Regions from separate parts of the Homo sapiens genome. Here region 1 is linked to region 2. The links are contacts of gene promoters, found by promoter capture Hi-C in human tissues and cell types (Jung and others, 2019). All regions are on one chromosome and are shown on one strand. Each heading gives the region's core, a stretch centred on a gene start or on the middle of the fragment in contact. The rest is flanking DNA. Distances are from core to core; before and after follow the strand shown.

Region 1 (7,241 bases), core at 2,372-4,871, 310 kb before region 2:
CTGGGGTGATCAAGTGAGGCCTCTCAGAAAGACTTTCTTCTATTTGGCAAACCCGAAGTGGCCTCTTGCAAATCTGACAGACACAATTAGACCCGGAAGCTGATCTCGAAGGGCAAAGTCAAGATGAGAAGCGAAACCATCCTGCAATAAGCAAGAAATCATGCCTCCCCAGTGCACAGACATTGTTAAAATACTGATTGATTTTTGTGCTTTTTCTGGTCAGGGTTAGAGAAAGAGATGTTGAGCCCAAGGATGTCTGACAGGAACATAAGTCATTAGGAATGTCTGGGACAGGGCTGGAGCAGGTCCCAGAAACACGACACAGGCTAAGGAGAAGGAAGACCCAGAGACTGTGTTGTCAGACCGTGGCTCATGGGCATTTGGTGCAGTGAAACTCGATATTCAATTTGAAATTTTCACTTTTCTGCTTTGAAATTCCCCTGGGATAGTTTAAACCTTTGTAAGTTAGGACACTTTTAGCTGTTAGAAAACCCTAACTCAACTAACTTGAGCAAAAAGAAATTAATTAACTCACAAAACAGAAAATCTAGAGGAGGGCAGATCCCAGGTTGCTTCATTCTGTTCAGCAAATTCAAGGGCATCATCCAGGACCCAGGTTCACTTCTCCTTTCCGTGTGTTGGCCTCACTCGCCAGCTACCTCTCCTCATGGTTACAAGGCAGCAGCAGAGACCCAGCTATCACATCCTATGGCAGCTTCCAAAGGTAGGAAAGAGGCTATCTTGGCTGGGTGCGGTGGCTCACACCTGTAATCCCAGCACTTTGGGAGGCCAAGGCGAGCAGATTACCTGAGGTCAGGAGTTCGAGACCAGCCTGACCAACATAGTGAAGTCCCATCTCTTCTAAAAATACAAAAATTAGCCCGGCATGGTGGCAGGTGCCTGTAATCCCAGCTACTTGGGAGGCTGAGGCAGGAGAATCACTTGAACCCAGGAGGCGGAGGTTGTGGTGAGCCGAGATCATGCCATTGCCCTCCACCCTGGGCAACAAGAGCGAAACTCTGTCTCAAAAAGGAAAGAAAGAAAGAAAGAAAGAAAGAAAGAAAGAAAGAAAGAAAGAAAGAAAGAAAGAAAGAAAGAAAGAGGCTATCTTATCCCTATGTCTGTTTTTAAGACAAACAGACCTTTACTAGAAGCCCACAAAGCCCTTCTCTTCACATCTCATTGGTTACACTTGCATCCCATTCCCCAGTCTAAACTTATCGGCTACATGGTGCATGTTGATGTTAGTTCTAGACCGCTTTGGGTAACAAAGACAGGAAACAGGCCCATGATCTGGGGCAAGGTGAACCAGAAGGCTCTGGAACATGGAGAAACAAGGACAAAATGGCTAGTGGGGATGGGGAGAAAATAAAGACAGTCATTTGGAGGTAGAGATGACAAATGGCATGGATACTCTTTCCAGAATTCTCTGACAGACTGGGGAAGGGATTAGGGATCTTGCAGCCACACAAGAGGGAGGGGCTGCTCAGTCACAAAGGCATGTGTACCCCAGGGGGCTAGAAAACGGGGGGAGGCTTGGCTTTCTCAGGGGATTAGAAGAAAGATGCCAGAAGAGCTGGAATAAAAACTTACTCAAAGACCTAACAGAAGAAAGGTCTTTTGTGTCAAAGAACAGAGTTTGCAAAGTGAACAAGCCGAACACATTGCAGGTACTATCAATGAAAGGAAAATGACAACACTGGAAAAGAATTCCCACCGGCTTCAAAGTAGAAAAAAAGAAAAAAATGGGTCGCCTCTATAGGAACCAGCACAAGTTTGGCCTTGGATTTTGTACTCGGAACTATTCATAACGCTACATTCTTTTTTTTTTTTTTCTTTGAGACAGTCTTGCTCTGTCACCCAGCTGGAGTGCAGTGGTGAGACCTCAGCTCGCTGCAGCCTCTGCCTCTCAGGTTCAAGCGATCCTCCCACCTCAGCCTCCGGAGTAGCTGTGACTACGGGCATGCACCACCACACCCGACTAAGTTTTGCATTTTTAGTAGAGACGGGGTTTCACCATGTTGCCCAGGCTAGTCCCAAACTCCTGACCTCAGGTGATCCACCTGCCTCAGCCTCCCAAAGTGCTGGGATTACAGGAGTGAGCCACTGCACCCAGCCTGTAACACTACATTCTTGAAGGTAGTGCTGTACCTTTTACAGGATTTTGAGCGAACAGTTGGTTCCAAGAATTTTATATCTATCAAATTACTCTTGAATGTGTAGACAACTAAAGATGTTTTGAGATATTCAGAGGCTTGGAAAATAGATCTGTCCATATTCTGCAGTAGACAGAAAAACCAATTCAAAATGCAGGCTTCTAGAAGGTGAGTGTCAGAGCATAAAGGAACCCCTCCACCAGCACGGACCCCCTTGGGGCCCATTGTCCTTGGCATGGCTGTGGAGCCCACACAGGGCAGCCCTGGCCGTGCTAGGCTTCTATGCCCTGAACCTTTTCTGTGCCCCTTGTTGTGCAACTTCAGGAAGTGTGTTAGAGCCACATCCTTTGCCCGGCGGCTCAGACGGAATCTTTACTTCACTCAGTGACCACTCAGAACAATAACAGCTGCCACTCGCTTCCTGAGCTTAATAACAATGGCTCAACCGTTCACCTCCCGGATGCTTGTGACGGAACAGCTTTTAGAAAGTTGTTTTGTTTTCCCTCTCCAAAAGCCATGTCGCCCGGAGATACGTGACAGCCACCGTCAGGGACCAGGGACTTGAGTCACAAGTGTCTCTTCTTTAGAACTCACCGGAATGGCTCAGACCACTGGATTTTTTCTTCCAAATCGGGAAAGAATAATGAAAGGGTCTATGAGATAGATATTTTCTAACTCTTCATCTAAACTTGCATGAAAACCTGGGAGTGTGGCTGGGCATGGTGGCTCACGCCTGTAATCCCAACACTTTGGGAGGCTGAGGCGGGTGGATCACTTGAGCCCAGGCGTTTGAGACCAGCCTGGGCAACATAGTGAAACCCTATCTCTACAGAAAAATACAAAATTTAGCTGGGCATAGTGGTGCACACCTGTAATCTCAGCTACTCAGGAGACTGAGGTGGGAGAATTGCTTGAGCCTGGGAGCAGAGGTTGCAGTGAGCCGAGGTCGCGCCACTGCACTCCAGCCTGGTCTACAGAACAAGACCCTGTCTCAAAAACAAAACAAAACAAAACAGAAAAACACCTGGGGGTGCTCCCATCTTGACTGAAACAATCAATATCCTAGATACAATCTCAACCTCAAGAAAAGACAGGAAGTTCACAGAGAACATTGATGTGATAGGGGATTATGGGTAGTTCTAATTTTCTGCTTTATTCCTCTCGGTGGGAAGGATGTTAGAAAGGACGCAAGGGCCAAAAGGTTGTAGGGTGGAGCCGAAGGGCCTCTTTTGCTTCAACTGTGGCCCTAGGTTTGAGACAGCCATTTATGCGACACGTCTGAGGCCACTCCAGGCCTCCCTGGCCACCCTGGAGCTGGCCCATGAGGGCGGCTTGCAGGACCTCAGACTCTTCCTTACTTTCCCAAAGAGGGGCCATTTCAAAGGCAGCAGCAGCCTCCCAGCTCAGTCTGCAGCGAGCAGCTCAAGATAGGCACCGCTTCTCTTAGGGGAGAGTCACTTCCCTTTCCAAGTCAAGAAAGGAGTTTTGGCTTTACAAGAAACCCACTCTCTTGGTGTGGGACAGTCAGGCCTGCGGGGCTGAGCCGTTCTGCCTTCGTCTGGCCTCACACAGGGCTCAGAGCACTGCCCCAACCCTCCCCCAACCAGGAAAAGCAGTGCAAGCTGAGTCCAGAAGGTTCTCAGGGTTTGAGTGGCACAGCAGCTGTTGAACAACTGCTTAACAGTTCCAGAGCGTACTCAGGTCCCTGAAGACATGAAGCCCATAGCCCAAAGAGCAGAGCTGAGGGAGATGGAGTTCCAAAATTTACCCCTCCTTCCCCACCACTCCCAGCACTGCCTAGAATGCTCTAAAGCACCTCCAGCTCCCTGCTGTCTCCACCCTCCTCCCCAGCAGCTTCCTTGTGCTGGGAGGTATGTGTGTGATCTCTACTTTCCAGCAGTTTCTTGGCAGTCCTTGCCCAAGGCCACATCGCTGACCAAATTGGACTTGAACCCAGATCCCAGCCGGGAATGGAGTCTGCTTTCATTCTAGGGGCACCTCACTGATTTACCACAAGGGACAGATGCCACCTGGGATCAAATATTATCTATAACCATGTGAAGGGCAAGAGGCCAAGCTCTCTGAGAGGCCACATTGCCCTGTCTCCCTGTCCCTCTGGGCAGAGTCCTGGGCTCATCCTTCCCCAGGGGACTCCAGACAGGCTTGGAAACACCTTCTGGATTGGAAGGAAGAAAGCTTAGCCGGGGAGGCCGGGAGGCCTGGCTGTGAGTTCCAACTTCCGCAGTTCTCAGCAACACTCATATTTAGAACGAGGGGGTTGGATGAAGTTACAGTTTGCATCCTGCCCTCCCATCTCGGATTTTTTTTAAGTCTGTGAAAGATGGAGTGAGAGAAAAGAGTCCCCCAGGTGAGGCAGCTCCTCTCCCTGATTGATACAGGGCTGTCATGGGCTATGACACGTGGGCCAACTCCATGAAGTTGGTCTGCAAAGAACAAAGATGAGATCTTTGGTGTTGACAAGAGAACAGAAGTCCCCAGGAAAAGAGCTAAAGTTACTAAACTAAGAAACAATGAAAGCCTTTCGGTGCTTCACTTGGCAAAATTTCAGGCCAGATTCTTATTTTGGGGAGCCTCGTATTCTGGTGGCACTGAACAGGCTCAGGTGTCAGGAATGAGTTATTTAGAAACTGTGGCTAAGCTCAGAAAAGACTGTGAGGTTTTGCCTCAACATGAAAAGAGGAACTTGAGTTAAAATAGGCAGAGATCAATAACTGCTAAAGCTTCCCCGAAGGGCTCTGAGTCTGCTTAATTGGGCATGAGTGTGCACTTGGTCCTCAGTGGACGTCTGCTGTCATTTACTCTTGGAGGTAGATTTTCGAAGGTGAGTCCACCTGGGAGAATCCTATGAGAATTCCCCTTTAATTCACCTTGAAGGAAAACCTCTTCAGACCACCTAGGTCCACAGCTCCCTGTACCATGTCAGCTACTGCGGAGGTCACAGATCTAGTGCCGGGGTCAGGAGCAGAGAAGTCCAGCAGAGCCGCCCATCTTCTCTGAAAGCTGCCCGCCCACTGTCCTGGCTAAGCGGAGACCTTAAGGAGGCACGCTGCCCCCACGACTCTGTCCCCATCTCTGAGAGGCAGAGGGGGGTACCTGCTCCAAGACAGCCGATTCATACACAGACTGGCAGCCCCTGAGTGGCTCATGCGGAGAAAGCCGTGGAGGCTGAGCCATCAGACTCCTTCTTAGGACTGGGGACTGAGAAGGGAGGCTGCTGGCTGGGAAGAGCGGCCCCACAGAGAAGAGCTGATCCATGGGAGAAGCTGCGTGCAGACCCCATGCTCTTCTGGTTCCAAGGCCCTAGGGCGGCCTTCTCCTTCCTGGCTCTGCACATCTCCACAAAGGCTGCCCACCCCTTACCCCTTACAGAGTCAGCCAAGGCGAGTTTCTGTTCCCTGCACCACCACCACCCCCTGCCCAGTAGCCTGATGAGGCCCCGGATTTCATCAGCAGTTCCCAGGGTCACAAGATGTCACAGTAGCAAGAGTATGATGGTGACAGAGAGGGGCAAACCGGAGACGCAGTCTACACATTTACAGGCGGCGGGTGCCGACTCTACTAGAAGCCACAGAGTCATGTCTTTTCCAGTCATACTTAAAGTTTTCTTCACTTTGAAGGAAGAGAAGAAACCACAAAGGGAAAAAAGATCAAAAGCATCGACCAACTTTTAACTTAAGAGAGTTTGCCGACTCCTCTCAGCAAACCACCTATCACAGATGCCAACTCTGCCAGAAAAGCTCATGCCCTCCTAGACTTGAAAAAAATGGTAGAGGTCATTGAGGCCAACTGCCTGCCCCAGACAGGGCTCCCCTCCGCTGCTCACATCCCACACATGGTGAAGAGCCCCTGTCAGAGACAGACATTCCCATGGCAAATAGCTGCCAAGCGCTGGAAAGGACCTTCTCGTACTAGGTGTGCCAACATCTGCTCCTGGTGACTGCTAAGAACCAGGCCAAACCTGCGGGCGCCCTAGGCCAGTGGAAAGCCTTCAGCAGATGTGCCTTAGAGGCTGCAGTGGACTCAGGGGCAGGAGGATGAGGCAGCCGGCAGCAATGCCAGCCTAACTACGCAGGGAGTGGTTCTGCTTGAGCCTAAACTCGCATCTCCTAAGGAGGCCTCGCAGCAAATGCCCCTGGACCGGGCTGCATCACACATGCCCCTTGGGCCTCTCTCAATCACATCGCTCCTCGAAGCAATTCCTTCCATCCTCATAAGCTGTCTTCCTGAGGGGCGTTCTGCTCACCACGCTCTCCCTCTTGACAACTTCTGGAGGATTTTTGCCTCCAGGGACTTGCCTGTGGTCTCCCCACACCTTGAGTCCAGCTCCCTGTCTACTACTGCATCCTAGTTAGCACAAAATGAATCATTCCCTTCAAGCTTTGAAACTGAAGAGTGTACCCTGCCTCTCCCCTCCCACTTCCACTTTCTTTTCAAACAAACTCCTCCAACGCCGTCATTGCTCTTCCATGACATGATATCCAAACCTTTGTCGACCCCGGCTACTCTGCTTGGGACGTGGATGCACTGCTGTGCCTCTTACTCTAGTCCCTGAGAACTGAGCATCTCTCTCTCTCTCTCTCTGTCACGTGCACACACACACACACACACACACACCCGGGATGTGGAAACTTTGTCTCCTTCCTTCTTGCCACCTCCATGTGCTCTTCATGTAGCCAGATAACAATAGCTTTCCTGGCTTCCACACACTCAGTTGTCACATTTTGTGGCGAAACAAAGGCTTTAGTAAACCGTGCTTAGGGTGGCCTTCCCGGGCTTGGACGGGTGCAGCTGATTTTTGTTTTTAAATTTAACTGCAGCCTGGCGGGGTGGCTCATGCCTATAATCCCAGAACTTTGGGAGGCCGAGGTGGGCAGATCATTCGCTGTCAGGAGTTTAAGACCAGCCTGGCCAACATGGAGAAACCCCATCTGTACCAAAAATACAAAAATCAGCCGGGCATGGTGGCGGGCACCTATAATCCCAGCTACTAGGGAGACTGAGGCAGGGGAATCACTTGAACCTGGGAGGTGGAGGTTGCAGGGAGCCGACATGGCGCCACTGCAC
Region 2 (6,463 bases), core at 754-3,253:
CTCCCCTACACCAGCTAACCTGGTAACTTCAACCAGAAATGACTTTAAATGCTCAGGCTATTGTAATGGGAGAGCTATGCTCCTAAGTGGGCACTTCAGAGCTGGTCTACAATATTCACAGCAGTAGGAATCACTGTTTATAGACCATAGCAAGACTTTCAAATTGTAGAGATCCAGAAATTAGCTTCACTTAAGACATTTCTTTCTTAATTGAAGATCATTTTGCCAAATCATTTTTGTCTCAATATATTGAAACCAAGTATACTATGGAAAAAGACTTTTAAGTTTAATAAAATCCTTAACTGTCTTGCCTACTATAATATGTATTCTCAGGCCAGGTGAAGTGGCTCATGCCTGTAATCCCAGGAATTTGGGAGGCTGAATTGAGAGGACAGCTTGAGCCCAGGAGTTCAAGACCAGCCTAGACAACACAGCAAGACCCTGCCTCTACAAAAAATAAAAAATTAGCCAGATGTGGTGGCATTACTGCAGGGGGTGGGGGATGAGGTGGGAGGATCACTTGAGCCTGGGAGGTCGAGGCTGCAGTGAGCTGTGATCACACCACTGCACTCCAGCCTGGGTGACACAGCAAGACTCTATGTCTAAAAAAAATGAAAATAAAAAATATACAATGTATATTCAAAACACATGACAGATACACTCAAGTGCTTCTGCTTTCTAGAAGCAGTATTATACTATACTTGTTCTAGTATTTTGTTGTTGTGTTGTTCTGTTTTTCTGCAATTTGTTAGCTGGGAATTGATACACATTATAATTCCTACCAGTACATGCAGGGAATGAGCATCACACCACAAATCCTTCTTTATACTTTACCTTCCCTAGTTCTGAAGGTCAGTGTTTCTAATGCTGTGTCTGAACTTGTGTTGAAGTATTTGGTACTAATAAAACAAAGAAGGAATTAATATATTTTTTAAATTGTGGGGCGGGGGGGGGACGGAGAGGATTCTACAAAGGCGGATTTCACTTTCTAAGTAGCATTATATTGGTCTACATTAATAATTTTCCCAGCAGGCCTTCCAAGATTTTACTTTGAACAATCACAGTCTTTGTTTCTCAGATCCTCTTACATGTGACATTTGGTCAAAGTTTTAAAATCAGCAGCTAACGGAGGAGGAGAAAAGTACTGTTCACTAAGGCACTGCACAAAGCCATACCACAGCACGTTTCAGGGTTCCAACAAGCTGGATCACATTTTCCAGCTAAACACTATTTCAATGTTGTGTTACATTTTCTGTACACTGTACACTATGTTTTATTAACACTATACTTCATCACACTGATCAGGAAAACATCTTCTAAACATCATTAAAATAAGCCTTAAGAAAATTCTTCGGTTCTTTCCCACAGGTGTGCATTTTTTAAAGTATCAGGTACAGAACAATTAATTTTATTCCTATTCAAGGTCTTTGTATACAGCCTTTAAAAAAAAAAAGTTTGTTTCCTAACCAAAAAAATAAAAGATTTCACGTAATTATCTATATTACTAGTTCTGGAACTAATGGTAGCCATTCTGATGAGACATGAGAAGAAAACTAAGAAAATCAATGCATTAATTTATGCCTATAAGTCCTTATCCAAATAAATCTTCCCCAAAGACATGGTGGAAAAAAAAAAAGATTAGTAAAGGAAATATCTCACACTTCAACATGCTATATAAGGAAAGACGGCTGAAAAATCTTGCAGGGAATTTTATCCCTTTGAACTTTCAAAAAAACTCTTAAGTAAGATTATGCAAACTTACTAAAGACCGGTCCTGATTAGAGGGAAAAAATGCACCCCTTCTCCAAGTCAGTTCTGGAGGCTTTCTCCAGAGTTGTTAAGGTTTGTGTTGGGTAAAGAAAGACCTCCTAACAAACCAGCATTCTTTTCCACATGATCAGAGCTAATTGGCCCCCCTGCAGGCTAAGTGACCAATCACATCAACCTCAGCTGAAACCAGCCCCCACAACATTATAAACAGAGGAATGTAAGCTGTAAAACCAGTCCAAGAAGAGAACCTACAAACTAGACTTGTAGATTAAAATTATCTGATCAAAAAGGCAGACTCTGTAAATTTCCTTAAGACCTACCTTGGCATAAAGGCTGACCCAGCAAAAGAACTGGTGAGTACATGCAATAATATCCATTCTTCTTTCCTTATGGGAAACAGGGAAAGAAACTGACTGGCAAATAGCAACAGAGCTAGATTACTTCCAACAGATTTTTAAAACAAAGACATTATCTATAGTGTAGGATAGTAAGGTTTCTATATTCTTTTCCCTTAAATCTTAAAAATGCAATAACAGCCATATTGAATGTATTACTGGAAATTTTCTTAACTGTTTTATTAAATGTATACTAATTTTCTATTACAATATATCAGTAGAGGATAAAGGCCTTAGGAAAAAAAATTCAGTGGCTTGAGGAAAAAAAAAGTCTTTTTCTTTTGGAAGGAATTTCAAAAACCCAAAATGAGCATAAAAAAACAAATGCCAAAAGAATAAGCCACTTTGTTTTTACTTCTGTAATCTAAGAAGAAAGTGATGAGTATCCTAATCGTAAATTTTTAAGCATGGAATTATTGCGGAAATTAATAGATACTTCTGCAACTGAGAAATTAAAATAGAATCTCTGAGCTTATATAACAGGGTTAGAACTCAATAGTGTTTGCCCTAATTGTGGAGGGCAGGAGAAATCATTATAAGACTTTCAATATAGTCTTAAAGTATTTACACCAGACATGAACAAATACATAGTAATGCCATCTTCATTTAATGTTTGTTAGTTATAGCCTTTATCTTAACTCCTCAGTATGAACTATACTATTTTTTATCATGGCAACAGAAAATACATACTTTTAAGTGCTACAACCCAATGAGTAGAATGAATTCTGATGATCAGTGAAGCTGCCTATCATTTTTTAATAGGTACTATTTTTCCTCCAAATAATTTATAAATGGGCAAATATTTTACAGCCCACACACAGCAATAGAAGCAAACCTTCCCAACCTTCCACCTCACTTTCTATTGGGATCAGCTGATGAGACTTAAATATCAGGTAACAATAGTATAATTTTTTAAACCATACGAGCAGACATCAAACTATACAGAAATAAAAGAAATCATATAGGAAACTTGTATCCTTTGTAGGAAGTGGAAATATGTTTGTTTACATAAGTCTGTAGAGCTTTAAGAAATCTTATTATCATAATTCCCTCTTTTTTCACTTTCTTTGTTTTAATCTAAGGATGCCAGGCCAATGGGATTGAGTGGTTTGCCCAAAATGACACAGCTATGTAACCAACAGTGCTAGAGCCTGAAGGCCATATCCCCTTATCCTGCGTTCTCTACACTAAACCACACTGACTATAAGAGTCCACAGAATAGTTATTCAGGGTAATTGGTTAAGTGGGAATCAGAAATCAATCTTCCTTCTCTATATTACTCCACTTGCCAACACAATCCAAACCAAATCCAGCAGTCTTAGGTTAAAAAAAAAAAAATGCTGCTTAACTGTTCCGATTATCAGCCTTTTGACTTCCCTGTTCACAGGTTTTTCCATGTATTTAGTTGCAAGAGAAAAAAAATACAATTGTAAAGAGCCTAGAGTAAGAGTGCTACAAAAGTTGTAGGTAAGAAGTAACAACAGTCCTGAAAAAGCCCAAATGAGAATGATGAATTTTGTTAGCTACAGTCTATACAGAAAGGCTCTAAGTAAGGAATTTTAGAACTTTCATAAAATAGGTTGAAAATACAAAAGAATCATGGAGTTTTTTCTTTCTCAAGCTTTTGTGAAACACTAAGCACTTAGCAGCATTCAGTAGGACAGTGGCTCCAAATGTGGAACAAGCACTAGTGTCCAGGAGCATGAGGGGCATTTTCACATAGGCAGGAAGCAACAACAGTGGAGAATGACAAAGTTGTTCACCCACCATTTTGAAGGCAACCAACTATCCTTTCATTGTTATATCCTTCTTCCATGTGTCAAAATCTTTTATTATGTCATCATAATTTTATTTATAATGACAGTATTATACTTGTAAAATTGTCTTCTCATCTGGCAAAACAGAAACTTGGCAATGTTATGTCATAACTCTCCTCTCTACATTGCTTTAATTTTACTGATGTGCAAAACACAACTGGACTATCTAATAATTCAGACTGTGATAATCTTCAAGTCTTGAAAGAAGTCTTTCCTAACTGAATATCTGTTTCTAACCTACAAATAATAGGTCTGAACCCAATAAACATTACTGAAGAACAAACACTCTGGAGCGGCTCTTGAACAAAACTAATCAAATGAAACTGTATTATTCACAAAGGCTAAGCAGGGTCAAACATCTGTTTTGGAGGCAATATGGCACTAACTCTGGACTCAGAATGTATAATATTCATATCCACCACTTACTACCTCATTATACCTCATTTTCTTTCTTTTTTTTTTTTCTTTTAGAGACAGGGTCTCGCTATGTTGGCCAGATCGGTCTTGAATTCCCGACCTCAAGCAATCCTCCCGACTCAACGTCCCAAAGTGCTAGTGTTACAGGCATGAGTCACCATGCCTGGTTCCTCACTTTCGTTATCTGTAAAATGGGACTAATAGTGATACTTATTACTGTGAAACTTAAGACACCTTTTTTTTTTTTTTTTTTTTTTTAAATAGAGACAAAGTCTCACTACGTTGCCTAGGCTGGTCTCTAACTCCTGGACTCAAGCAATCCTCCTGTCTCGGCCTCCCGAAGTGCTGGGAGCCAGACACGTTTTTAATAACAATAAAGCAACTAATACTTTACTGAGAGCTTACTCTGTGCCACTGGCTTCACATCAGTTTGTACATATGAAGTATTTGGTATGATTCCTGGCACATGCTAAACAATATATATATTAGCTAATATTATTAATCATTACTATCTAAAGAATCATGAACAAAGTTAACAATGGTTTAATACAGATACTTGAGACAGTTTCAGGGGCAAGAAAGGCATCTACTAAAGGTGCTAGAAATTTGGCTATCAAAGACCTTCTTGAGAATGCAATATCAATCATTTTTGGAAAGACTGTTATTTCACCAAACGCTTCCTGTATTAAAAAAAAAAATTAACTGGCTTTGAAGTTAGCTAGACTTGAATAACCATCCAAATAATCCAAAGCTCCTATTTGCCTTGTGTAAATTTCTTTTATCTGTCTGAGCACCAGTGACTTCATCTGAAAATGGGAACAATGGCTATCTTGTTGAGATACTGAAGAATTAAGAGATAATACAGTATGAAAGCAGTTATCACAGTGCCTATGAAGATTTTGTTGTTTCCAAAGCGTAGAGATCAGGTCTCCTAAAACATTTAAAAATAATCTAACAAAATAAGGGTCATTAAGTAGCTATGCCAAGAAAAAAGAATACACTAAATGATTATGACAACTTGTTAGGGTAATAAGTTATAAAACATTAAAATAATGCACTAAGATTTTTTAAAGTCTATATCATATGAAACTGAAATCGCCATCTAACCTAAATAAACTGAACAATCATCCCAGTGTTCCATTAGCTCAAATCTGAAGAAAATACAAAAAAAAGTCTCTAATCACCAATAAATGTTAAGTTACCTCAGAGCAAAAGAAAGTTGTATATACCCAGGTGGCCAATATCCAATTCCAACAACACAGAAAGGCAGTCTCCAAAGCCTCAAAGTCCCGAGATATAGGAACTAGGAAACCCAAGCAACAACCTAGCTCCACAAGTCTGTAGTGCCCTTCTCAAGCCCCATTAAAAGGCAGGAAGTGGGTATGCAGCACTCTCAAGGGTATCTACCTCTAAAGGAAGAAGCAAAGAGGACAGTCAAATATAAACTCATAGTCCTGAATTGTAGCAAACAAGAGAGGCTCACTCAAGGGAAGCAAAGCTGCATTTCCTGTTCTGTTCCTAGTAACTGCTACACTAAAGTCTTAAGACACCTTTGTCATACGCAAGGATGATTACAAGGAAGGCACACATTAGATTTCTACTCACCACCTTGAGAAAAGGATAACCACTGATGAAAACTGTTTGCAGCAGAAAACTAATTATACTAATGTTATCTTTTTAAAATTCTTATTTAACCCCTTAATGATTATTTTAGTTCATTGAACTATTCAACCTTTTTCTTCTAGTTTACTTACTTTTAAAGCTAATGCTATCCAGAAATGTCTTCCTGGAATTTCTTATTTTGCCAAGAAACAATTCTCTTTCTACCCCCCAATCTAATCAGAGCCTAGAATATGCAAAGAGATAGCAATCCATCATCCAGGACAGAAAGAATCCACGAACATGGTTGCAAAGTGACAAAAACAAATAAAGCCTAATCATAAAACTCTAAATAAGACCAGGTATGGTGGCTCACCCCTGTAATCCCAGCGCTTTGGAAGGCTGAAGTGGGAAGATGGCTTGAGAACAGGAGTCTGAGACCAGCCTAGGCAATATATTGAGCCC

Evidence for each region. Contacts are between HindIII fragments. The study calls those that stand out against the background at their distance.
Region 1: a fragment that was not itself captured here is called in contact with the fragment with the promoter of KCNJ13 in region 2 in 1 of the 25 tissues and cell types used here (spleen).

The regions. Positions count from the first base shown.
Region 1 is chr2:233,079,981-233,087,221 of GRCh38, reverse strand. The region is part of intron 2 of INPP5D (inositol polyphosphate-5-phosphatase D); the gene reads right to left. Among named protein-coding and RNA genes, the nearest start is that of INPP5D, 23 kb to the right of the region's middle. RefSeq lists enhancers at 2,349-2,398, 4,769-4,918, 5,429-5,518 and a silencer at 2,389-2,683. The HindIII fragment of the contact is 4,211 bases long and covers 1,516-5,726 here.
Region 2 is chr2:232,772,105-232,778,567 of GRCh38, reverse strand. KCNJ13 (potassium inwardly rectifying channel subfamily J member 13) reads left to right here and starts at 2,003. Exons shown (of 3, transcript NM_002242.4): 1 at 2,003-2,123. All of the region lies in intron 8 of GIGYF2 (GRB10 interacting GYF protein 2), which reads right to left. The HindIII fragment of the contact is 9,389 bases long and covers 1-5,214 here.